Linked DNA regions of Homo sapiens: all the other regions are linked to region 1. Evidence: promoter capture Hi-C in 16 types of primary human blood cells and fetal thymus (Javierre and others, 2016). All regions are on one chromosome and are shown on one strand. The core of a region is centred on a gene start or on the middle of the fragment in contact, and the rest is flanking DNA. Distances in the headings are between cores, read along the strand shown. Region 1 holds the start of MED31 (mediator complex subunit 31). Region 2 overlaps NDEL1 (nudE neurodevelopment protein 1 like 1). Region 3 holds the start of KRABD2 (KRAB domain containing 2). Region 4 holds the start of C1QBP (complement C1q binding protein). Region 5 holds the start of DHX33-DT (DHX33 divergent transcript). Region 6 holds the start of LOC101928044 (zinc finger CCHC domain-containing protein 9-like). Region 7 overlaps NLRP1 (NLR family pyrin domain containing 1).

Evidence for each region. Contacts are between HindIII fragments. The CHiCAGO score rates a contact against its expected background, and 5 or more counts as called.
Region 2: a fragment that was not itself captured here is called in contact with the fragment with the promoter of MED31 in region 1 in 1 of 17 cell types (activated CD4 T cells); the score reaches 6.0 in activated CD4 T cells.
Region 3: a fragment that was not itself captured here is called in contact with the fragment with the promoter of MED31 in region 1 in 1 of 17 cell types (non-activated CD4 T cells); the score reaches 5.0 in non-activated CD4 T cells.
Region 4: a contact is called between the fragment with the promoter of C1QBP here and the fragment with the promoter of MED31 in region 1, in 3 of 17 cell types (erythroblasts, M2 macrophages and M0 macrophages). The highest score is 7.2, in erythroblasts.
Region 5: a contact is called between a fragment that was not itself captured here and the fragment with the promoter of MED31 in region 1, in 4 of 17 cell types (erythroblasts, naive CD4 T cells, activated CD4 T cells and 1 more). The highest score is 9.4, in erythroblasts.
Region 6: a fragment that was not itself captured here is called in contact with the fragment with the promoter of MED31 in region 1 in 1 of 17 cell types (total CD4 T cells); the score reaches 5.3 in total CD4 T cells.
Region 7: a contact is called between a fragment that was not itself captured here and the fragment with the promoter of MED31 in region 1, in 2 of 17 cell types (naive CD8 T cells and M0 macrophages). The highest score is 6.1, in naive CD8 T cells.

What each region holds. Positions count from the first base shown.
Region 1 is chr17:6,649,746-6,653,314 of GRCh38, reverse strand. MED31 (mediator complex subunit 31) reads left to right here and starts at 1,710. Exons shown (of 4, transcript NM_016060.3): 1 at 1,710-1,814; 2 at 2,882-2,959; 3 at 3,237-3,333. The coding sequence starts at 1,787. C17orf100 (chromosome 17 open reading frame 100) reads right to left here and starts at 1,553. Exons shown (of 1, transcript NM_001105520.2): 1 at 1-1,553. The coding sequence starts at 1,401. The coding sequence ends at 1,045. RefSeq lists silencers at 1,186-1,235, 1,536-1,615 and enhancers at 1,866-1,995, 2,066-2,145, 2,236-2,295. The HindIII fragment of the contact is 11,591 bases long and covers 1-3,271 here.
Region 2 is chr17:8,435,990-8,439,558 of GRCh38, reverse strand. NDEL1 (nudE neurodevelopment protein 1 like 1) reads right to left here. Exons shown (of 9, transcript NM_030808.5): 1 at 3,514-3,569. Among named protein-coding and RNA genes, the nearest start is that of NDEL1, 1.9 kb to the right of the region's middle. RefSeq lists silencers at 3,122-3,361, 3,402-3,569. The HindIII fragment of the contact is 399 bases long and covers 2,058-2,456 here.
Region 3 is chr17:8,375,750-8,379,318 of GRCh38, reverse strand. It overlaps KRABD2 (KRAB domain containing 2), which reads left to right and starts at 2,615. Exons shown (of 2, transcript NM_001304947.3): 1 at 2,615-3,419. RPL26 (ribosomal protein L26) reads left to right here. Exons shown (of 4, transcript NM_000987.5): 4 at 1,627-1,803. The coding sequence ends at 1,755. RefSeq lists a silencer at 2,481-2,680 and an enhancer at 2,425-2,976. The HindIII fragment of the contact is 367 bases long and covers 1,776-2,142 here.
Region 4 is chr17:5,437,407-5,440,975 of GRCh38, reverse strand. It overlaps C1QBP (complement C1q binding protein), which reads left to right and starts at 1,821. Exons shown (of 6, transcript NM_001212.4): 1 at 1,821-2,134; 2 at 2,703-2,853. The coding sequence starts at 1,903. DHX33 (DEAH-box helicase 33) reads left to right here. Exons shown (of 12, transcript NM_020162.4): 12 at 1-59. RefSeq lists an enhancer at 1,425-1,604 and silencers at 1,664-1,846, 1,825-1,994, 2,105-2,154. The HindIII fragment of the contact is 1,457 bases long and covers 1,257-2,713 here.
Region 5 is chr17:5,469,023-5,472,591 of GRCh38, reverse strand. DERL2 (derlin 2) reads left to right here. Exons shown (of 7, transcript NM_016041.5): 7 at 1-1,338. DHX33-DT (DHX33 divergent transcript) reads right to left here and starts at 3,500. Exons shown (of 3, transcript NR_135644.1): 1 at 3,453-3,500; 2 at 2,598-2,678; 3 at 2,232-2,500. RefSeq lists an enhancer at 3,517-3,569. The HindIII fragment of the contact is 1,060 bases long and covers 1,412-2,471 here.
Region 6 is chr17:5,510,006-5,513,574 of GRCh38, reverse strand. LOC101928044 (zinc finger CCHC domain-containing protein 9-like) reads left to right here and starts at 849. Exons shown (of 1, transcript XM_047437231.1): 1 at 849-1,623. The coding sequence starts at 948. The coding sequence ends at 1,535. It also overlaps a transcript of NLRP1 not described here. The HindIII fragment of the contact is 2,014 bases long and covers 553-2,566 here.
Region 7 is chr17:5,557,778-5,561,346 of GRCh38, reverse strand. It overlaps NLRP1 (NLR family pyrin domain containing 1), which reads left to right. Exons shown (of 17, transcript NM_033004.4): 4 at 1,304-3,008. Among named protein-coding and RNA genes, the nearest start is that of NLRP1, 25 kb to the left of the region's middle. The HindIII fragment of the contact is 1,966 bases long and covers 986-2,951 here.

The DNA of each region.
Region 1 (3,569 bases), core at 461-2,960:
CAGTTCCCAACTTAAGATGGTTTGACTTATGATTTTTCGACTTTACAATGGTACAAAAGTGACATTCAGTAGAAATAGTACTTTAAGTACTCTTACAACCATTCTTTTTCACTTTTAGTACAGTATGCAATAAATTACATGAGATATTCAACATTTTATTATAAAACAGGCTTTCTGTTAGATGATTTTGCTCAACTTTAGGTGTTCTGAGCATGTTTAAGGTAGGCTAGGCTAAGCCATGATGTTTAGTAGGTTAGGGGTATTAAGTGCATTTTCAAATTACCATATTTTCAACTTACAATAGTTTCAACGGGAGGTAACCCCATCGTAAGTGGAGGAACATCTAGTGCCTGGCACAGAGCCGGTTCTCAATAAATATAACTCTTCTCCATCTTCTTCAAACCTCAGGCCAGGTTTCAGTGACCTCCTCTCACTTTCTAAGATTATTTTTGCTTGCTGGTGGGTTTACTGTCATTTTTAACCACATCTAACCTACCTTAAAAAAGTGTATGGATGGGGGTGCCAGGTACAAAGACTTAGCATAAAGAAAACGACCATTTACTTTGAAACATAAACAAAGGCCAATTAATAATTTATGAGTCTGTTCCTTGTCCCTCGAGTTTTTAGCAGGCATGGAATCATTCCACAGGTCATTATTTCAGTTTGGTCTCTGTTCCTAAGGGGTGAAGGTTTTCTGAGGGCTGTGGATCCCAAACTCACCTGGCTCAGAGGCTCAAACAGCCTCTCTTTGTCCATCAACCCGATTTAGACAGCATCCTGGGCCTGAAAACCTTCTGTGCTGGCTTCAAGTGAAAATAGTTCACTGGGTCAAAAGTAGGCTGGTCCAAGACGCAGGACGGTCAGTAAACGTTGGCTGTGTTCAGAAACTGCGGCTTGGCTGTTTCTTACATTGATTTATGGTTTGTTTCCATGAAACCGAAAATGATTGGTCCACCTGGCAGCTGGCTGGCTGGCTGGCAACTGGAGGCCTTTCTGTCCTGGCTGAGGGCCCTGGCCCCTTGGTGGCCTTTGGGAAGCAGCATCTCATCGGGCCGTTTTTTCGTTCTGGCGGGCGGCCGGCTTGGCCCGCGGGGTCGGGCTCTCCGCGCAGTGCAGAGACGTCTCCACCCTCAGGGACGAGGCTCTGACGTGGCGGGAGGTCGTTTCCGTGCGCTGCGAGGAGGATTCCACGTGCCGGGAGGACGCCTCGAGGATGCGAGGGAGCCGCTTCCCCGAGGGGGAGAGGGAGGGCCCCTCGCTGCGGCGCTGGGAGGTCTCCACCCGCCGGGACGACGTCTCCACGCGGTGGGACGAGGTCTCCACGCGGACCGTGGACGTCTCTGTGTAGCGGGTGGTCCCCACCCGGGGCGAAGACTGCTTGGCCCCTCGGGCTGAGGCCATTCTGCCGGCGTGAGGGGGCCAGGGAGGCCTCGGGGCACCCTACAGCCCAATGGTCACCGCAGGCAGAAGAGAGGAAAACTACGGTACTGCCATAGCCGGGAGCGCCACAACACGATGACGTGGAAGCACCATGGTCCTTCGAAGGCTAAAACACTGGACTCCTGCCCCTCAGGCGCTCCCACGGCCCGGGCCCCGCCCCCTCGCTATTTTGGAGCCAGCGCGGGTGGAGCCATCCCAGGGCTGGTCGGGGATGGGCGGAGCCGCCCCGCCCCATATCCCACAGTGCCCCGGGACCGGAAGAGGGAGCCGTGGTTTCCGGAACTTCGCCCGCGTCTCTGGGCTTTTGCTCTGTCAGGCTGGTGGCGTTTTGGTGTCTTCGTTTGTTATGGCCGCTGCTGTCGCTATGGAGACAGGTGAGTAGCTCTCTGATCTTGGAGTCTTCGCAGATGGAACTCTCCTTGACCCAGACCTCTTCCCCGTGGCCTCCTTCCAGGCCTTACTCTTGGCAGGGTTAATATTTGGACAGAGAGGAGAGAAGGCTCTTGTAGCGTCTAGAAAGACTAAGGTACTCTTTGCAGTTTTCCTGATTTGGTTTGTTCGCACATCTTTGCTATTCAGACACCACCCCACCAGCTCCCTGGCGTGGGTGAGACTAAGGGAGAGGACTTGTGTGTTAAACCGTGTCCTCCTTGATTGGTTTTCTGCTTCTCACATGAGCTTGCCTAAGTTTGAAATATCGTCGCCAGACTTGTGTATCATTCTGCTACTGGTGCTTCTTTTTTTTTTTTTTTTTGAGACAGCGTCTGGCTCTGTCGCCCAGGCTGGGGTGCAGTGGCGCGATCTCGGCTCACTGCAAGCTCCGCCTCCTGGGTTCACGCCATTCTCCTGCCTCAGCCTCTCAAGTAGCTGGGACTACAGGAGCCCGCCACCGCTCCCGGCTAATTTTTTTTGTATTTTTAGTAGAGACGGGGTTTCACTGTGTTAGCCAGGATGGTCTCGATCTCCTGACCCTGGTGCTTCTTATATGCATGCGCTGCATGATCTTTTAGGCTCTCCGCAGTCTCTTGCATCCTAAGTTTTTCTTTACTGATTCAGCCCCTAGCGTTTGCGAAACTTAATCACTGTTAACAGTTGTTACAACGCATTATTAAAATAGGGGAAGCCACAGTTATTACAGCCTACCTTAGTGATCACTGTTAAAATTCCTACATAGTGGCCCACGAGTGGTAGGAATTCTCCGTTTGTGTTGCTGTTTTCTTTGATGATTTCTCTTTAACTTTAGAGAAACTTCTAACTTACTCCTTTTAATCAGGGCTCCGCTTTTCTTAGATTTCGAAGGAAGGTTTATCTCCTCCCACTCCTAGTTTAGGAAGACCATCTCAACATTAGTCAGGTTTCTTTATTGCTCTTTCCTTACTACAAATCAGTATTATATACAGTGACCTTTGTTTTCCATGATTTTTGCTGTCTTGTCTCCTAGATGATGCTGGAAATCGACTTCGGTTTCAGTTGGAGTTGGAATTTGTGCAATGTTTAGCCAACCCAAATTACCTTAATTGTAAGTTGTTAAGCACCTCATTAAATTGAGTAGCTATTAATGATTTCTGACAGAAGAGTTGCAGTTCAAAATAGTATCTACTTTTACACATTCTCAGTTGAATGACATTACACTTATGCTGGTATATAGATATAATTGCGTACTGGGACTTGTGTTTTGAATCCAATGTGTGTTGGTGGTGGGGGTGTTATGTAAATAGATCCTTTATATTAGGGGTAACAAATCACAGTTTAAGGATTGGTTTGACCTACAGATTTTTTTTTTTAATGCTTTTCAGTTCTTGCCCAAAGAGGTTACTTCAAAGACAAAGCTTTTGTTAATTATCTTAAATACTTGCTTTACTGGAAAGACCCAGAATATGCCAAGTATCTAAAGTAAGTTTAATTTTTATAATCCTAAGCATGTGTATACTTTATTATATAATAGATTTCTTAGTTTCACATTGGCAAAAATGTATTTGGAATCTCTCCACTTCTTTTTGTTATCACCGTCTTAATACAAGACACCCTCATCTCTAACTTGTAACACTGCAGTAATCTACTCCCTGGTTATCTGTGCTTCCACTTTTACCTTCCTGCCCCCATCTCCACCCCAACCCAAACCAAGCAAA
Region 2 (3,569 bases), core at 1,008-3,507, 1.8 Mb before region 1:
AAGCAGGCCAGGCGCGGTGGCTCATGCCTATAATCCTAGCACTTTGGGAGGCTGAGGCAGGCGGATCACTTGAGGTTAGGAGTTCAAGACCAGCCTGGCCAACATGGTGAAACCTCGTCTATACCGAAAATATGAAAAAAAAAAAAAAAAATTAGCTGGGTATGGTGGCCGGCACCTGTAATCCCAGCTACTCAGGAGGCTGAGGCAGGAGAATCGCTCAAACCCGGGAGGAGGAGGTTGCAGTGAGCCGAGATTGGCCACTGCACTCCAGCCTGGGCAAAAGGGTGAGATTCCATCTCAAATAAAAGAAAAAAAAAAAGGCCGGGCACAGTGGCTCACACCTGTAATCCCAGCACTTTGGGAGGCCGAGGCGGGCGGATCACGAGGTCAGGAGATTGAGACTATCCTGCTAACATGGTGAAACCCCGTCTCTACTAAAAACACAAAAAACTAGCTGGGCGTGGTGGTGGGCACCTGCAGTCCCAGCTACTCGGGAGGCTGAGGCAGGAGAATGGCGTGAACCCGGGAGGCAGAACTTGCAGTGAGCCGAGAGCGCGCGACCGCACTCCACTCCAGCCTGGGTGACAGAGAGAGACTCCGTTTCAAAAAAAAAAAAAAAGAACAAAGCAAAAACTTCTTACTTTGTGGTCACACCTCATCTTTATTGCTTCCTAACTGGTATTATCCAGCTCTATTGCCCTACTTTTACCCATCAGATTTACTCTTTTTAAAAATCAGATTCTGGCCAGGCACAGTGGCTCGCGCATATTAATCCCAGCACTTGGAAGGCTGAGGTGGGAATGTCAGTTGAGCCTGGAACTTCAAGGCCAGCCTGGACAACATGCTGAAACCCCATCTCTAACAAAAATACAAAAATGAGCTGGGTGTGGTGGCATGCACCTGTGGTCCCAGCTACTCGTGAGACTGTGGTGGGAGGATCGCTTGAGTCCAGGAAGTTGAGGCTGCAGTAAGCTGTAATCACTCCACTGCACTCCAGCCTGGGTGACAAAATGAGACCCTGCCTCCAAAAAAATAAAAATAAAAATCAGATTATTTACAAATAATAAAATTTGCTACCACTGCAGATACTCAAACGACAGTTTCAGGGGCTGTTATACAGTCTGTTCAGTTTGCTTCAAGTTACACTGGGAGGATGTGTTCACTTATTTCAAACTATGTAACTGGAGATATTCAGGCTATAGAAAGTTAGCTAATATAGAAAACATACTGCTAAAACAATGCTCTAATGGTACATCCACAATTTTCTGAAGCTAGAATGAAGATAGATAATTATGTATTATTGGCAGGGCACGGTGGCTCACGCCTGTAATCCCAGCACTTTGTGAGGCTGAGGCAGGCGGATCACGAGGTGAGGAGTTCGAGACCAGCCTGACCAACATGGTGAAACCCTGTCTCTACTAAATATACAAAAATTAGCAGGGCATCGTGGTGCGCACCTGTAATCCCAGCTACTCAGGAGGCTGAGGCAGGAGAATCGCTTGAATCCAGGAGGTGGAGGTTGCAGTGAGCCGAGATTGTGCCACTGCACTCCAGCCTGGGCAACAGAGGGAGACTCCATCAAAGAAAAAAAAAATTATTATTCTCTGCCCGCCCCCACCCCATCTTTCTTTAATACCAGATCTCAATACGGACACAGTCTCAAAAGCATGACAATTTTTACGTAAAGCATTATCATACTGTGTATGACCTTCAGAAATCTAGCAACAATCAACTCATTTGAGTTTAAAACAGCCTGTCCAAAATGCCTTTTATTTACAAGGAAATTATTCTTTGTACAATGGTAAGAAAATCTATTTTCAATGATATTGTTTCTGGTTAACAGTTCTAAAATGGACTGACGTTAGAAGAGTTCTTTCAGAACTCACTGTTGGCAATATATGCCTTTTTACTGAAATTCTACTACTCTCAAAGGTGACATTTACAGAATTTTTAACTCTTCAAAGTTGATCATAAACACGGTCTCTCTTTGATTCTATCAGACTTCTTTTTTACTTTATGGAGTGCTCAGAAACTTACGTCAGAAGTAATTTTAAGCTTTAGTAACCAAATTTATCCCAGCATGGTTTAAAATGAAAACAAAAATAAGTTGTTTTGCAGATGTCATGAAAGCAAGATCTAAGTTTTACTAAGGTTCCTACTTATTTTAAGCTCTTTATCCAACTTCAATTTATTTAATTTAAAAAAATCAAAAGAACTACAGCTTCAGAAGATTTAGCAACTTCTATCTGGATCAAGTCAACCTCTAACCAGGGCTGGCCAAAGGTTTTGTTTCTCACGCACTCTAATTTTAAATAACAATAATTTTAATAATAATTCAGAAGAAATACTTCACTTGGTTTCCCTTTACTTCTCTTCAGCCCATGACTTAACGCTGCACTGTGCCCATCAACTTCACGATTTAGCAAAGCAATTAACCAGCAACTCCTGAACAAGCTTCACAGGAAGATTTTTCTCATGACTGAGCAGCCGTTTTTATCCTAGGTGAGTTTTCTCAAAAATAATTGAGTAAGTAATCTACCAGCTTCTGGCATATCTTTGGCAAGTCACATTTTCTGCCTTGTTTTGTAGCTGAGAAGGGTATAAAAATCCCACGAAAAGAAACCAGAACTCCGAGCCTAGAAATGTAAATTATGATCCAAGCTAAACCACTCACCAGTTGGTTGAACCTAAGTATAAATAATTACCCCCATCCCAGCTCCATTTACCCATCGAAATGGCGATAACATAATCAGTTGCAACCACAAGGTGATGCGGTTAGAAAAAGATAGGAAGAAGAGTGCTCTGAAACGTGTAAAGGTGCTACGTAAATAGAAGGTAATAATCAGTGGTGACAGAACTCTCACCTCCTTTGCAAAACTTAAAGGGTCATCTCATGGCTTACAGCAAGAAAAGAGTCGAGCACAAGTAACCCGAGCCCGTTGGTGACACTTTGCCGAACTCCAGGGGGAGGATGATTAGCAGTTCCGGGCGGGAGTCAGGAGAATGCCAATCCGAGCCCAACGTGGGCTGCTCGCGCTCTCGCCCCCCATGGGAGAGAGGCACTGAGAGATCAAAATGCAACCCCGCTCCAAGCCACCCTCGCAAATGAAGGAATTTCGAAGAGGGGGTAGGAGGAGGCGGGCTGGGCGCGCCGCTGCCACCTCCGACTGGGCCACTCCTTGCGCCGCCAGCGCCCCAGCCCACGGTGCCACGTCCCGGCCTCCGTCACCGCCAGCCCTCACCCTACCCGGAACGGGGCACATCTTCCGGAGGCCACCGGAATCGTTCCCTTGCAGGCGCCCCTGGGGGGCCACACATCGGACCAGGGAAGGGAGGGGACAGTTAGAGCGGTTGGAACAGTTGCCCCCAGGCTGGCCGCCCCGGAACCCGGCCCGGCCCGCCCCGGCGGAGCCTCAGACACGGCCCCGGGCCGGGAAGGCTCCCCAAGGGCAGGCCTCGGCGCCGCCGGCCCAGCGCAGCCCCTTAGGGAGCGGCCCCGCGCTGCAGGCTCACCTCCAATGTGTCAAAAGCGCATGTTCGCCGCCGCTCAACCGACGTCTCCCCTCCGC
Region 3 (3,569 bases), core at 710-3,209, 1.7 Mb before region 1:
ACAGGCATGAGCCACCATGCCTGTCCCATTATGTATATTGGGCGGAGGTTGCAGTGAGCCGAGATCGCACCATTGCACTTCAGCCTAGGCAACGAGTGAAAACGCCATCTCAAAAAAAAAAAAAGAAAAAAAATAAAGACCTTAACTGATCTTCCCTTACTTCTGACATCTTTTTCCATTCTATATGTTCTAGTCTGCTCGCCTCCTAGCAACTTGGTAGAATTATAAATTCTAAGAGCCCAGGCCTACTGAGGCAAAATTAGGGCTTATGACCCAGGTGTATGTTTTAATAAGCCCTCCAGTTGATTCTTACTCAAGTTTGAGAAACACATCTATGAAACTTGATAATCTCCTGCCTTTGAACCTTTCAACTTGCTGTTCTCTTCCAGATACCTGTGCATAGATAGATTGCTCACCACTTTAGGTCTCTGTTCAAATGTAGGGCTTTGCTTGATCACTCTAGAAAGCCCCTCGGCCTCCTCACACTTGCCTTCTTACTCTATCAAAGTGATGTAGATTCACTTGTAAATGTTTTCGGGCTCCCTATACTAGAATATGAGTTCAGTGACTGTGGAGATTTTTGTTTGGTCTGCATGCTGTATTTCCAGCACCTCTTTTCACCCTTTCCTCGCATTCATAAGACTAAAATTTATCATAATTTGGATGTCTTTTAGGATTGGAACTGTTGGAGTAAGATCGTATTGTCATCTTCTCACTAAAGATTTTGCAGGTGGAATTATGTGTGGATGCTACCTTTAATTTCTAGCATTAAAATTCTGAAGTTACTTTATTATTTTTCTGTTTGGGGGTGGGGTTTTTTTTGTTTTGGACAGAGTTTTGCTCTTGTCGCCCAGCCTGGAAGTGCAATGGTGCGATCTCAGCTCACTGCAACCTCTGCTTCCTGGGTTCAAGCGATTCTCCCGCAGTAGCCTCCTGAGTAGGCATTCACCACACCCTGCTGTTTTGTTACTTGTTTGTTTTTTGAGATGGAGTCTCGATTGATCGCCCAGGCTGGAGTGCAATAATAGCACCATCTCAGCTCACTGCAGCCTCCGCCCCCCCAGGGTTCCAGAGATTCTCCTGCCTCAGCCTCCCAGGTAGCTGGGATTACAGGCATGTGCCACCATACCCAGCTAATTTTTGTATTTTTAGTAGAGAAGGGGTTTCACCGTGTTGGCCAGACTGGTCTCAAACTCCTGACCTCAGGTGATCCGCCTGCCTCTGCCTCCCAAAGTGCTGGGATTGGGGGCATGAACCACCGCACCCAGCCTGAAGTTACTTTGGAAACAAATATATTTGTATATGACAGCTTGTAAAACTGTAGTGAGAAGAGCAGAATCATATATTTCTCAGTGAAAAAGAAACAAATCTTATAATGAAGCACAGAAGAGGCTTTAAGAATTACTGATACCATCTTGCCTTTTCTCCTTTGTTGGTAGGAAATTAGTAAATAAGCCAGGTTTGATGGCTAAAGAGTGATTTCTGGAGTTTTTTAAAAGTTAAAATCTTTTCTTATTAGGCATCCACCTACCCCAGGTTTGGGAAATGGTATTGAATGTTGGGCTTTCCCTTGTGTTTTAGTGATTATTTAAAGCTTGGGAGTGTTTTTTTCTTATTTTTCTGCAGGTGGTTATCACTAGGCTAAAACTGGACAAAGACCGCAAAAAGATCCTCGAACGGAAAGCCAAATCTCGCCAAGTAGGAAAGGAAAAGGGCAAATACAAGGAAGAAACCATTGAGAAGATGCAGGAATAAAGTAATCTTATATACAAGCTTTGATTAAAACTTGAAACAAAGAGCCTGTGTTTTGTGTGTGGTGATTTAGGACACTCCCTAGTTTTCAGTGGATCAGTCTCTTACCTCTGATTTGTTGGTCTAAAATTTTTCTGAAATCAGGACTGATGAGATTTTTTTTATAGTGGGCAGCAGCATTTGAGGATATATCAGAAGCTGGAGGGGTGTCATTGAGAAGAAGAAGGCCTACAAGAAAAGCTAGTTGGAAACACTTCCTCTTGAACCTGTCTTTTAACTTGCTTACTATGGATAGGTTGCTATATGGACAGGCTATATTTTTTACCTTACTGCGTAAAAGTTTGTATTGCCATTGGATAGGAAGTCTTGCTTTCAATAGGATAAGAAGCTTCTGTGACTTTATAGCTTCTAGATGACTTCTTCAAGCTGTTCCTCCAGATTGAGAGGTCTCGGGTTCAGGTTATCTGATAGACCCATGGGCCCCCTTTACCTTGTTTTCTGCACAAGTGCTGGATGAGTGCCATCAAACCAAAACCTAACACGTCTTTGAGTTAAAATATAAACTAAACTGCAGCTTCGTCAGGATGAAGTGAAAAGGTGTGAGGTGGCAGCAGTGTGTGTGCTCCTGCCGTTCCTCATTTTAAGCATCTAAACAGGACACCTGAAGCCCGTTTACTTTCCAGGCTGGAGACTTGGCAACAACGTGGGAATGGGGAACGGGCCCGAGTTAAGTCACTGGCTTAGCCAAGGTCACAGCTGGCATCTGGGTGAACAGCGCTGCACGGTGTCCGCGGTGCCTCTAGGGGGCGGGGCTTCCGGCTGGCGCTGACCGGCTTCCGGCGGAGCGGGCGGGAGGTGGGGCGGAGTTGCTGCTCGGGGGCCTCTGGGTGGAGGGGGATTCAGACGCCGCGTCTGGTGTGTCCCTTTCTCCTTCCTGACCTTCCTCAGTCTGCAGCTCTTTTCTCCACCGCGCGCCCGCCTCAGCCGTTCAGCCCTGAGCTGGCGGGTGGACGGGCATGGATCCAGGCGGTGGGAGCAGTCTGCGAAGTCAGGGTAGGAAGGCTACACAAAGGAGGCGACATCCCAGCCCGGTCCTCAGGAATAAGCGGGCGTGCCCGTGTGGTGTGGACGGTGAGGGGACACTGTATTAAGTGCCTTATCTGCATTATCATTGAATCTTCATAGCAATCGATTGTGATGGGTACTGGTCATCTCCCCGGGTTGTAGATGAGGAAACTGAGGCCTCAGTAACTTTGCTTTAGTCAGTAAATGATAAGAGTCAGCAAATGAATTCCCAAGCGTAGACTCGGCCGTACCGCTGCTCTACCTTGCTAATAACGACCTACCTGTAAGCGACATTTTTGACAAAATGTCCTTTAAACATCTTTTGTGCTCAGCTCTGTATTCGTGGGCCCTCCAAAGGGGGTACAGGCAGGTAGAAGCCTCCGTCCCTACCTTATAGGTTGTATATATCTGAACTGGTCGACTAAAGATGCAAAGCGAAGTGCTCCAGTGAGTGTGGTACAGGTTGTTGAGATGAAGGAGAGATGGCAATCAGCTAAAGTTACTGAATACGTCAGGAAGGAGGCTGGTTTCAGCTGGCTGTGATTGGGAGGATCAATGCGAGGACATTCCGAGTCGGAAACAGCCAAGGCGAAGACTCACAGGTGGGTGAAGGGAGTAAACATGGCTTTGGAAATATTTCCAGTTTTCTCTGACCAACTCGTTTATCACCTAGCCGTCACATAGATCACACCAAGAAGCTGATTGATTTACGGTCACATTTCTTTCATGTTGCTTTGGAAAAGATACTGAAG
Region 4 (3,569 bases), core at 572-3,071, 1.2 Mb after region 1:
TTGTAAATAATGCTCAAATTTGCACCCGACGATCAAATCCATTAAAAATGAATCTTGTATATGATGTGTGTGGCTTGTTTCTTGCATCTCTTTTCCATTATTCATAGAAAATTATTTAGAAAATATTAAGTGTTAGTCTTACCATGAGTTAGTAAGACATACCTTCTTAGTAGCTTATATGTCCTGTATATCCTGGGAAGGTAGGATTGTTGATTTTTAATAAATCTGAACCCTGTCTTTGGGTTATATTAATTTACTGGAGAAACTCACAGAACTCAGGGAAACACATTTACCGGTTTCATACAAAAGATATGACCAAGGATACAGATAAGGAGATGAGCAGGGTGGGGAATGGGGAAGAAGCTCCCAGCCTCCATGCCGTCCCTGGACCACCACCCTCCAGGAACCTCCATGTATTTAGCTATCAGAGGCTCTCCAAACCCTGTCCTCGGGTTTTTATGGAAGCCTCTGGACTTATCTAAATGATATAAGCTGGCTTCTTGTCCCCAGAAAAATGATGTTCCATTAGAACTTGGATGCAAGGTTGGAGGTGCAGAGAGGGAAGGTCACAAAAATTAATCATGGATCCTGCCCTTGAGGATGTCACAGTCTGGTTGGGTTTAACCTGGTTAAAGCAGCAACGCTAGGAGGTTCCTGTTGAAAAGAGAATGAAGCATATGGGCTGGGTGCGCACAAGCATGAGTTCCGAGCCGGTGGAAAAAAAGGTTCTAGAAGGCCTCTTTCAGGAAAACCCTCAGACTTTCCTTTGCTCTCACAACACAACAATCAACACAGAAGACTTATGTGGCCAAAGGTTTGGGTTTTTCCCCTCCACACTAAGCAGCAGACACCAGCTGGGTGTCCTCCAATTCAATCCCAACAGTATCTACCTGGAGATAGTGTCAGATCCCATAGGTTGAGGGCTCAGTCCCCAAGACCGCCCCCACCTTCAGACAGCAATGGCAAGTCTGGGCCTCTGAAACTTCCGACCAACCCGCTTCAAGTTGGGGTTCCCACGACCCCCCTCTTTGGATTATGTTAACTCACTGGAGCAGTTCACAGAACTCAGGGAAACACATTCACCGGTTTCATATAAAGGATATGACCAAGGATACAGATGAGATGAGCAGGGTGGGGAATGGGGAAGAAGCTCCGAGGTTCCTTGCCTACCCTGGGCCACCACCCTCCAGGAACCTCTACGTATTCAGCTGTCAGAGGCTCTGCAAACCCTCTCCTCTTGGGTTTTTATGGAAGCTTCTGGACATCAGCATCCCTTCCCCCAGGGTATATGGTGGGACCTTCTCTGGGAAGGGACTTAAGACCCATAATCAGAAATGTGGAAGGAGATTAGAGTCCTGCTTTGGGGCAGGTAAAAGGAGGGCAGGAGAAGGGGAGAGTCTGTTTCCTGAGGCCTAACACACCCAACATTATCACAGAACATTGTAACAAGGGCTATAGGAGTTACGACCCAGGAACTGTGGATGAAAACCAATACATATATATATCATAACACCACAGCCTCCTAGAGGAAAGTGACCGTGGAAGGGTCTGGTGAGAGCTGGCGGGAGACAAGAGTGCATTCCACGCAGCCCAAAAGCCTTGCGTGCTTTGAGAACAGCAGGTGGAAAGTGGGTAAGCGGCCACTAGAGGGAATTAAACAGCTTCGGACAGCGGACTCGGCAGCGCAGCAAGAAAGCTCCGGAATCCGGATTCGAGGCTTCCCGGGCTGCACCGGAGTCTCCAGCAGAGGGCGCGATTCCGCCCGCTGGCCTTAGGTCGTCAGAGCGCCGGCGCGGGAAGCGCTTCCGGGCAGGGGCGGGGCTTCCGGCGGCGCCTCAGGTCGCGGGGCGCCTAGGCCTGGGTTGTCCTTTGCATCTGCACGTGTTCGCAGTCGTTTCCGCGATGCTGCCTCTGCTGCGCTGCGTGCCCCGTGTGCTGGGCTCCTCCGTCGCCGGCCTCCGCGCTGCCGCGCCCGCCTCGCCTTTCCGGCAGCTCCTGCAGCCGGCACCCCGGCTGTGCACCCGGCCCTTCGGGCTGCTCAGCGTGCGCGCAGGTTCCGAGCGGCGGCCGGGCCTCCTGCGGCCTCGCGGACCCTGCGCCTGTGGCTGTGGCTGCGGCTCGCTGCACACCGACGGTGAGGTTTAGCGGGCCGGGGGTGTGGTTTGCGTTCAACAGAGGGAAAACGTAGACCAGGAATAGGGCCTGCAACCGACCTCTGAGGTCTGGGACATTTTTCCATTGATTGGCAACCAGCGGGCTAAACCCACGTATGATCATATTTCCCCCACCTCCCCTATCCAGCAGTTTCGTTTTCTTTTGGTAGGGGGTGAATAAAATTAAATACTAGGGTACCTTTTTCCTTAGTCTTATTCTATCGAAAGTGGACCTTTGGGAAGGCCCATGGTCGTGGTTGAAAATAGCATAGTTATATCGTTTGGCAAGTGGAAGAGGATTGGAAATTCTCCTGGTTTATAGCGGAAAGTGGTAATGCGTTCATTGTTGGAAATCACTTTTCCAGAATCAGGCTCAGCTTCCTACTACTATTATGGTATTTTTACCGATAAGGAAACAGGCTTCTAGAGTAACCGTAATAGCAGAGAGATTAGAAACAGTCCAGGTTTCTGGCTGCAATAACCTGGGTAATAGTTTTATGTTTTAGACTAACTGGCTTTCCTTTTTATGTATCTGGATTTCTTTTCTAGGAGACAAAGCTTTTGTTGATTTCCTGAGTGATGAAATTAAGGAGGAAAGAAAAATTCAGAAGCATAAAACCCTCCCTAAGATGTCTGGAGGTTGGGAGCTGGAACTGAATGGGACAGAAGCGAAATTAGTGCGGAAAGTTGCCGGGGAAAAGTAAGTACTGGTCTGGGGATCCCAGGGCAGCAACTCCCTTAACCTTGCAGGACCCATCCTGGGTCATCCCCAGAAGAGCCTTGAGTTCAGGTGTGGATACTTTGATAAATGGGTTTCAAGAGAGTGAAGGATTCATTTGGACAACTTCGTAAGCCCCAGGCAGTCCATTCACCGAACACAAATTTGCTGTGGGCTGGTTACTAAGGAGACAAAAATGTAGTGCAAAAAAGTACTGGCAGAATCAGTTTGATCTCTGATTTACAGCCCTGATAAAATAGGACACTGCTCTCTAATGTTTAGTATGGGTGAAAATGAAAAATATGTAACTTCTATGTAACAGGATGGGGTTACACTGTAGTAAGGGCTGCCATCAGAGGTGGGGAGTTTGTGACCTAAGTCAGCTCCCCCATCATCTCCTAAACTGTTAAAGTGTTTACACTTTTCTGCATTATAGTCATCCATAATCTCATTACACAGATAAACATTTGGCATCTTCCAGGTTTTTAAATTGAGCCTGGGCGCGGTGGCTCACACCCATAATCCCAGCACTTTGGGACGGGCAGATCATGAGGTCAGGAGAAAATCCTGGCTAACACTAAAACCCTGGCTCTAGTAAAAATTAACCGGGTATGGTGGCACGTGCCTGTAGTCCCAGCTACTCGGGAGGCTGAGGCAGGGGAATCGCTTGAACCTGGGAGGTGGAGGTTGCAGTGAGT
Region 5 (3,569 bases), core at 692-3,191, 1.2 Mb after region 1:
TATACAGCCTAAAGGCAGGCAGTTACAGGGTTTTTGATTTCTCCGATTTTATAGGGTGCAAGTTCCCAGTGGCAGGATGCCCTGCTGTGTGACTGACTACACTGTGTCCTGAGCAGTGGTAATTTCAATCACCTCTCATCAGTTTGGCCAGCCCTACAACCACCATTCCTAGCCCTGTGTTGCTTGACAGGATACCTGTGCTTGAATGGACATAAGGAAAAGTCCTTACTTTCTCCCCAATTTACCTCTCAATCTTAGTTCTTCCAGAACACACTTCCCTTTCACAATGCAAATAAACTGAAAGTGAGATTTGATACATGGAATTTTGAGACCAACCAACTAACCTTACACATAATTTGAGGGATTCCTGGATTCTTCTAGTGATACTGAAAAGCACACTTGACTAAAGCATAGTGTTTTTTGTTTGTTATGGAAATACGGTATACGTTCATTTAAAAATAAATGGACATACAAATTGCATCTCCTTAGGAGATACATTTTATATACATTTCGGTGCGTTTTTTTCCAGTATGGATTTCTATTTGTTTCTCTCTTCCTCTTGTTTTTTCTGTGTCACTCTTGTATGTCCTCATATCTTTCATACCTCTTGTGTAGTCTCTAGAAGCAGAACACCTAAGTCCTGGGTCTGGATAATGAAACCCTCAGTCTCTGGGGCCTCTGAAAATAAGGAAGCATTGGAGCTATTGCCATGTTGAGTAATGGGCTTCCTAGAACTATTGTCATCTATCCTGCCAGTGTTTTATGTTGTAGCTGTTTTTCTTTGACAGGTGAGTTCCAGCTATGTTGTTAGTCATGATCCTGCCATTATTTTCTGTGTTCTGTAGGATGTCTCCAGGCTACTTAAACATATTTTATGAGTTTGCAATAAAATTGTTGAATCTTGTATGATCAAGTCACTCCTCTGCTCAGAAATCCACAGTGACTTCTTAGTAAGCCCCTACATTATATGCATACTTGTTTTTTTCTTAACTTTACTCCCACTTCTACCTAACAGGGACCTCAACTTAAGTCTCTTCAGTTCTTCAAGGCCTGGCCTTGTTCCTGATTCCTCAAAAAATCTTGACTCTAAGGCCTATTTTATTGTCTGTCTCTGAATCCCTATAAAGCTTCAAGTCTGTATGACATTCTTAACGCCAAATTATATATTGTCTTGTACTGTTCCTAGCTGGTACATGTATATTAGTCTTGTCTCCCTCATGAGAATGTAAGCTCCTTAAGGGCAGGGACCATGTCTTAATTTTTGTATCCACCACAGTGCCTAGCACAGTGCTTGGCACATGGGTGCTGAATAAATACCTTTGTTTATTGATCAGCAAAGTATTATCTGGTATTTTTAATTATAGAGGGATTAAAGTGTATGCATGCAAGCTTGAGCCTAGTTGCTGAAGCTTGTGGTTGTCTCTGAAAGTGGGATAGAGGGAAACTGAACATGATCAAGGGCAGTAATTTGGTGGTCGGAAAAGCAAAGGTGACCACCAGCTGTTATGGTCGTGATCAGACCAGTTAAGTCCACAGACCATCCCAGACAAGTTAAAAATGAAATGTGTCTGACACTTCGTCGTTTGAAGGAAGAACCAGGATATTCTCTGAATAGTTATTAGCTTGTCAGTATCTACATATGAAAGCTGGTGAACCCCAAGAGACTTCTTCAGGAGAAACAGCAGATTTCAGTCTACCAATGGGAGAAATGTGAGCAGCATGGCTTGATGCATATATAGGACTTAATTTTTCCACTCTTTGGTCCTCTTAGCTTTGAGGCTATAGAATAGCTGGATCATTAGGCCAGAGATTATGGATGAGTTACCTACAGATTTGTTACCTACCTATGTGCTTTGTTTTGACAGTACTTTTTTTTTTTTTAAGTTTAAACCTGTATTTAACATTGACAGATAAAAATCTTCACTTTTGGCTTTTCTTGAGAAAATTGGAAGATCTGGCAATAATAGGTCTACATGACAGCCATTGCCTAGAAATGATTAGGGGCTGCATGTAGAGGTGGAATGTGCTCCATCAAGAAATAAGTCCACCCATTTACATTACCTAAATTATTGTAATCATTTGGAACATCGGACTCCTACCTTAAGTTACTCTGGAAAGCACACTGGGAAAAAGGACTGGGATGTCTTTACTCAAAGTCCATAATTTGAGAGTTAACATTTATTATCCCTTGTAGTTTTGGGTTGCCTTTCTAAATATTTCAGGGTAGGAAGTGAAAATTTGTCAGTTTATTCTTAAACACAAATCTGCTGCTGGTTCAACGTGCACATTTTCAGTAATGCCTGGTCACCAAACTGTCAGCAACTAGAGGAAAATTATCTCCGACCTGGAGCAAAGGGGAGGTTTTTTGTTTTTAGACTAGCTCTCTCACGAATCACGGGAAGGGAGATATTTAACAGGGCGAGTTTCATGGAAACGAGCTTCAGAAGATACCCTTCACATGAGCTGAAGCTTACGGTGTATTCTCTGGAAATCACATTTCCTGTAAGAGCAAACAGCTACTTGGCATTCTCCGTGGTAAATTAGCAAATCATCTAAGAACTTTTAGGAGGGTAAGGAAGAACTAGTTATAATCCTACTTTTTTCTGCTGCAGTTCTGAATCTTCACTGAAGTGTCTGTGATGGGGTTGCACAGCCATGTAGAGAACTTGAGAGTCTGGCTGGAATGGTTGGGGGAAAGGAAAGATAAAAGACAATTTTAATTTCATTGAACTCCCTCCTTTCTCTGCTTGTATTACTGGAGGCGACCACATCCGTTGGAGGAGTCATTTTCTGAGTTAAATTCATGTATATCAGAATTGGTTTTCCTTTCTGTAACACAAGATGATCACAAAATTATGATTTGGGGACATCTGAATGACTAAGATGACTCAATTTCTTAATCTGTAAATTAGAGATAATCTAATAACCAGTATATACCACATAACTTATAAGTTGTTTAGAGGATTAGACAATGCACGTTTGCGCTTCTCATTGATTTTACAGAATTAAGTACTTTCCTTGAAGAGTGACTGTTATTTGGACAGAGAAGGGGAAAACGCGGGTTTACTGAAAAGAAGTAATGCTACTAGAACAAAACAATGGGCGGGGCGCGGTGGCTCACGCCTATAATCCCAGCACTTTGGGAGGCCGAGGCAGGCGGATCACCTGAGGTCGGGAGTTCAAGACCAGCCTGACCAACATGGAGAAACCCTGTCTCTACTAAAAATACAAAATTAGACGGGCCCCGGTGGCGCACGCCTGTAACCCCAGCTACTTGGGAGGCTGAGGCAGGAGAATCGCTTGAACCCAGGAGGCGGAGGTTGCAGTGTGAGCCGAGATCGCGCCATTGCACTCCAGCCTGGGCAACAAGAGCGAAACTCCATCTCAAAAAAAAAAAATAAAACAATGAGAAAAACCTCGTTAACCAAGACTACAGTCCCACGGAACCTTACATCCTGTGTTTCCCGGTTGTAGCTCCGGGCCTTTTCCTGGTTGTACCTCAGGCCCTGCTTTTCCCACCCCCAGGAAGTGAAAGCCTTCCCAAGCCCCCAAGGCATGCTGGGAGATGC
Region 6 (3,569 bases), core at 310-2,809, 1.1 Mb after region 1:
TTTTCTGCAGTGGCACAGGCTGGAACACTGGACTAATTATTTTTCTCTGAAACTGTTGTAGCCTGGAAGACATAAACTTGAACCGTCCGAACACCTGATGAATATAACAAATATTTTTAAAATCAAATAGCACCTAGTGATAATTCATAAAATACTTAAGCCCAGTTTTAAAGAAGAGATCAAAGCCAAGCATGGTGGCTCATGCATGTAATCTTAACACTTTGGGAGGCCAAGGCAGGAGGATCACTTGAGCTCAGGCTTTTGAGACTAGCCCGGGCAACATAGACTTTGTCTCTTTAAAAAAATAAGAAAGAAAAAAATAAGAGATCAGATGCCATTTGGAATCTAAGTGAATAGGCTGGAAAACTAGTCTTCTGTTGTCTGAAATACAAAGCCAAACAGATTTTTAATAAGAGAGATTTTTATGAGAACAGAAGAAAAAAAGGTTAATGCTGGACACAGTCTATCCAGGTATTAGACTCAAAAGCATCTTTAGTTATAAAGCAGGAAAGTGGTGGCAATCTGACACGCCTGTATCACAAGGTATAAGCTTTAGCTTGCAGGGCCTCAGGAGAAAGCTAGTAGTAATTTTACTGTATGCAGATCTCTAAGCTGGGGGTGACACAGGAGGTGGGCAGGACTGGCTTCACAAGATGCAGGTCACAAAGACTCCACTGATAAGATGCGGTAAAGAAGCTGGCCAAAGCCCACCAAAGCCAAGATGGCAATGAAAGGGACTCCTGGTTGTCCTCACTGCTCATTATATGCTAATTTTCACCCTCCTGTAGGACCAGCTCCAGCAGTTGTGGGACCCAGTGCAAAATGGAAACACAGGGCCCCTCGTTCAAAAATGATAAGAATGTCAAGACGGTGACAACAGAACATGAAATCAAGCGCCAGGCCCTGCTGAGCTCAGGGCTCTGTGTGACCGCACAGGTCACACACCCATGAGACTGGCCTTGTCTTTCGGGTCCTTCACGCCCCACCCACCCATCTCCTTTACCACATGCAGACCTCCACTCTCCACACAACCCTTCCTCCAAGAGGACAGTCAATGGGAAGTAAGAAGATTTAAAAGACAAGGGGCAAAGAAAAATGCAATGGTGTGTTTCCATTGTAGAAAACCTGGTCGTGGAATTGCGGATTGCCCTGCCGCCCTTGAAAATCAAGATATGGGCACTAGAAGATGTTACAAGTGTGGGTCCACAGATCACGAAATAACCAAGTGTAAGGCTAAAGTAGACCCGCCTCTTGGCGAATGTCCTTTTGCAGAATGTTTTGTCTGTGGAGAAATGGGGCACCTGTCTAGATCTTGTCCTGATAATCCCAAAGGACTCTATGCTGATGGTAGTGGTTGCCAACTTCATGGCTCTGTGGAACATTTAAAGAAAGATTGCCCTGAAAGTGAGAATTCAGATCGAATGGCCACAGTTGGTCTGTGGGCAAAGGGAATAAGTGCAGACTATGAAGACATTGTGGATGCACCAAAACCACAAAAACCCAAAACAAAAATACCTAAAGGTGTTAATTTTTGATAACAACTAGTACTGTCATTAGTTACCACCTCATTGTTACTTTCTAAACCAGGCCCACTTCACAAGTTACAGCTGGGCTCCCTTGTAGCCAGGACTATACTGTAAATATCAGTATGATCTGGGTGTGGTCAAAAACAATTTTCAACAGAGAGAAAGAAGAAAGAAGAGAGAGAAAGAAAAAGGAAGAGAAAGAGGAAGAGGAAGGAATGAAGAAAAAGAGGAAGGAAGGAAGGAAAGAGAGAAAGGAAAGAGAAAGAAAGAAGAAAGAGAAAGAGAAAGAAAAAGAAAAGAGAAAGGGAGGGAGGGAAAGAAGGAAGGACCTACGCGAGGAGGGGCTCCGCCAACCCTCTAAGCCCCGCAACCCCCGCATGCCCCGCCTCCTTCTGCAGACCTCCCCGTCCCTCATCCCAGCAAGTCCTCACGTTAGTTGCCGGAAGCCTAGGAAATGTATTCCTAAATCTGGAGTCGTCTCCATGGCAGCGAGCCCCGAAGTGGAGCCAGTCTTGGAGTAGGAGAAAGGCCAGACACAAACAAGTGTGTGGGGATGGGGGAGACACACATGCATGTCCGCTTTGGATCCAGATTCTCTTTTTTTTTTTTAGACGGAGGCTCGCTCTGTCGCCCAGGCTGGAGTGCAGTGGCGCAATCTCAGCTCACTGCACTCACTGCAACCTCCACCTCCCGGGTTCAAACGATTCTCCTGCCTCAGCCTCCCGAGTAGCTGGGATTACAGGCGCCCACCACCACACCCGGATAAATTTTTGTATTTTTAGTAGAGACGGGGTTTCACCATGTTGGCCAGGCTGGTCTCGAACTCCTGGCATCAAGTGATCCGCCCGCCTCGGCCTCCTAAAGTGCTGGGATTACAAGTGTGAGCCACCGTGCCCGGCCTGGATCTGGATTCTAATAGCAACAGCTAGAATTCTGAGGGACAGGCAGTGAGCTGGGAATCAAATTCTTGGCTCTACCACCCATTAGATGTGTGATCTTGAAACAGGTTTTCAGATGTGTAAGAAGGGAATAGCAAAGCTTGCGTCAAACGGTTGTTTGACTAGGTGAGCTCATGAGTGGGAAGTTGTTCTGGGCGAGCTGGTACACAACACTAGGCAGACAGTAAATCTTAGCTTCTTTGAGCCTGAGGCTGTTGTAGGTGCCAGTGATAACAGAGGCCAGAGTATCTATTCTCAAGCAATTTATATTCTAGTGGCAAGGAGATACGAAATACGCACCCATGTCTGTAATCCCAGCACTTTGAGAGGCGAAGGCCTGAAGATCTATTGAGACCAGGAGTTTGAGACCAGGAGTTCAAGACCAGCCTGGGCAACATAGCAAGACCCCGTCTCTTAAAAAAAAAAATTTTTTTTCATTTTTTTGGCCAGATGCAGTGGCTCATGCCTGTAATCCTAGCACTTTGGGATGTCAAGGCGGACGGATCACCTGAGGTTAAGAGTTTAAGAGTTCAAGACCAGCCTGGCCAACATGGTGAAACTCTGTCTCTACAAAAATACAAAAATTAGCTGGGCATGATGGCAGGTGCCTGTAACCCCAGCTACTCGGGAGGCTGAGGCAGCAGAATTGCTTGTACGTGGGAGGCACAGGTTGCAGTGAGCCGAGATCACGCCATTGCCCTCCAGCCTGGGCAACAGAGCGAGCCTCTATCTCAAAAAAAAAAACCAGTTTTTTTAATTAGCCGGGCATCGTGGTACATGCCTGTATTCCCAGATACTCTGGAGGCTGAGGCAGAAGGGTCCCTTGAGCCTAGGCTCCAGTGAGCCATAATCATGCCACTGCACTCCAGCCCTGGAGACAGAGCAAGATCCTGTCTCTAAATAAAAATAATTGGCTGGGTGCTTACCTATAATCCTAGCACTTTGGGAGGCTGAGGCCAATGAATTGCTTGAGTCCAGGAGTTTGAGACCAGCCTGGGCAGCATAGTGAGACACTGTCTCTATTTAAAAAAAAAAAAGAAGAAGAAGAATAGAAGAAAGATCTTTTTGAATAGAGATAGATGGCAACTTCCTCAGAATGGATGTG
Region 7 (3,569 bases), core at 719-3,218, 1.1 Mb after region 1:
GCAGTGGCCCATGCCTGTAATCCCAGCACTTTGGGAGGCTGAGGCGGGCAGATCACGTGAGGTCAGGAGTTTGAGACCAGCATGGCCAACATGGTGAAACCCCATCTCTACAAAAATACAAAAATTAGCTGGCGTGATGGCGGGTACTTATAATCCCAGCTACTCTGGGGGCTGAGGCAGGAGAATCGCTTGACCCTGGGAGGCGGAGGTTGCGGTGAGCCGAGATCGTGCCACTGCACTCCAGCCTGGGTGACAAGAGAGAAACTCTGCCTCAAAAAAATAAATAAAATAAAATGAAATTCACCTAAGGAGAGAAGGGAGAGGCACTGAACATATTGTGAAGAAAAGAACAGAAGAGGTTGTAACTGTTGTTCTATTTGGAATCTGACTAAGATAGGAGCCTGAGGTCCCTCCCTGGGAAACAATGGTGTATATAACCTCAGCTTCTCACAGGTCATGAGGTATCTTCCATCAGTCTCAGGTCGGGCTCGCCCGGAAGCCTGAGACCGGATTTGGTTGCAGGTGGCTTACTGGGGAGGTGATTTCTTGGACTCATCAACAAGAGAGAATGGTGAGGCGGGGAAACCCAGGAAAGGTAGATTATGGAACAGGTTACCTTGTGAGCAACTGAGGCTCCATGCTGCTGCGGTTGTCTGGGAGACGGTGAGAACATGCCTGAGTGTTATCTGTCCTGGGGGCAAGGGACCCCACCTGTCATCCACTAAGGGCACCTCCTGGACTGGAGAACTATCCTCCAGTATTTCTGGCCCACCCGGCTTACAGGCAGAGAAAGAGCCCTCAGACAGATGACCACAGCTGTTGCCGAGGGACACCATTGGCAGGTACTGCAATAGCAGGTGCTTGGGATGCTGTCAGCATCTGCTACACACTCCAGTGTCTCCTCCAGTCCTCCATGACCTACAACCCCCAGCTTACAGATGAGAAAACTGAGGCTCATAGGGGCTAATGGCCAGCATCATAAGCTTAGTGAGGACTGAGAGTTGTGTCTGTTTTGTTCACTCTTTATCCCCAACCCCTATAGCAGCACCTGGCACAGAGTAAGCCCTTGATAAATATTCAGTGAAGGAAAGTCATTCAGGGAGTGTGACTTAGTTGAGTCAAGACTTGAACTGGGATATTCTACCCCAAAGCACATGTCCTTCCGCCGCATGGCAAGAACATACCAGTGTCTGCAGACAGCGCAGTGTGTGGCTTGGAGTAGGTGCCTAAAACAGTTGTTTAATTAATTAATTAATTCTTCTATTCTCTACCTTTATGTTCCTTCTTTCCCTCCCTTACTTAGAAATCAGAGAAAGAGAGAGAGAGAAATCAGAGAAAGGCAGGCCCCCATGGGCAGCGGTGGTAGGAACGCCCCCACAGGCGCACACCAGCCTACAGCCCCACCACCACCCATGGGAGCCTTCTGTGAGAGAGAGCCTCTGTTCCACATGGCCCTGGAAAAATGAGGATTTTAACCAAAAATTCACACAGCTGCTACTTCTACAAAGACCTCACCCCAGAAGCCAAGATCCCCTGGTCAAGAGAAGCTGGCCTGATTATGTGGAGGAGAATCGAGGACATTTAATTGAGATCAGAGACTTATTTGGCCCAGGCCTGGATACCCAAGAACCTCGCATAGTCATACTGCAGGGGGCTGCTGGAATTGGGAAGTCAACACTGGCCAGGCAGGTGAAGGAAGCCTGGGGGAGAGGCCAGCTGTATGGGGACCGCTTCCAGCATGTCTTCTACTTCAGCTGCAGAGAGCTGGCCCAGTCCAAGGTGGTGAGTCTCGCTGAGCTCATCGGAAAAGATGGGACAGCCACTCCGGCTCCCATTAGACAGATCCTGTCTAGGCCAGAGCGGCTGCTCTTCATCCTCGATGGTGTAGATGAGCCAGGATGGGTCTTGCAGGAGCCGAGTTCTGAGCTCTGTCTGCACTGGAGCCAGCCACAGCCGGCGGATGCACTGCTGGGCAGTTTGCTGGGGAAAACTATACTTCCCGAGGCATCCTTCCTGATCACGGCTCGGACCACAGCTCTGCAGAACCTCATTCCTTCTTTGGAGCAGGCACGTTGGGTAGAGGTCCTGGGGTTCTCTGAGTCCAGCAGGAAGGAATATTTCTACAGATATTTCACAGATGAAAGGCAAGCAATTAGAGCCTTTAGGTTGGTCAAATCAAACAAAGAGCTCTGGGCCCTGTGTCTTGTGCCCTGGGTGTCCTGGCTGGCCTGCACTTGCCTGATGCAGCAGATGAAGCGGAAGGAAAAACTCACACTGACTTCCAAGACCACCACAACCCTCTGTCTACATTACCTTGCCCAGGCTCTCCAAGCTCAGCCATTGGGACCCCAGCTCAGAGACCTCTGCTCTCTGGCTGCTGAGGGCATCTGGCAAAAAAAGACCCTTTTCAGTCCAGATGACCTCAGGAAGCATGGGTTAGATGGGGCCATCATCTCCACCTTCTTGAAGATGGGTATTCTTCAAGAGCACCCCATCCCTCTGAGCTACAGCTTCATTCACCTCTGTTTCCAAGAGTTCTTTGCAGCAATGTCCTATGTCTTGGAGGATGAGAAGGGGAGAGGTAAACATTCTAATTGCATCATAGATTTGGAAAAGACGCTAGAAGCATATGGAATACATGGCCTGTTTGGGGCATCAACCACACGTTTCCTATTGGGCCTGTTAAGTGATGAGGGGGAGAGAGAGATGGAGAACATCTTTCACTGCCGGCTGTCTCAGGGGAGGAACCTGATGCAGTGGGTCCCGTCCCTGCAGCTGCTGCTGCAGCCACACTCTCTGGAGTCCCTCCACTGCTTGTACGAGACTCGGAACAAAACGTTCCTGACACAAGTGATGGCCCATTTCGAAGAAATGGGCATGTGTGTAGAAACAGACATGGAGCTCTTAGTGTGCACTTTCTGCATTAAATTCAGCCGCCACGTGAAGAAGCTTCAGCTGATTGAGGGCAGGCAGCACAGATCAACATGGAGCCCCACCATGGTAGTCCTGTGAGTACCCAAACCACCCATGTCTGCAGCTCCTCTGTCAGTCCATAAGCCCGAGTGACCTGAGCACCAGAGGCATGCTCACTGAGCCTGGCCGGGGGTGGGGGTGGCTAAAGGATCAGGGTCTCCAGTGACTTCTAACTGCCCAATCTGACCACCATGCTCTGTCTACCTAAGCTCCTCTGCAGTGCCCGGCTGTGGGGCAGGCCCTGCTTGCTTCTGGAGAGGCCACTGGGCCCTGCCGTGTCTGCCACCTCTCCTCCTACCCTTAGAATGACCGTCCATCTTCTCTCCTGGACGTGCTCCCACCTTCCTGCTGACCTTAGCTACCCCCACACTCCCCAAGGATCAGGCAGCCCCCCTACCCCTGCTCCTCTCTCTGGGCATTCATTCTCTCGGAGAAATTGCTCCTCCAGCTGCTTCAGGAACCCTTTCCATGACAACGACATTGGCCCTGAGATCTTCCCCATCAGCTCTCAAAAAGAGTTTCCTATTTTTCCCTGCAAAACTGACTTCATAATTATTTGTGACCGTGGTGCCACCATTGCCCCACGCACTCAACCT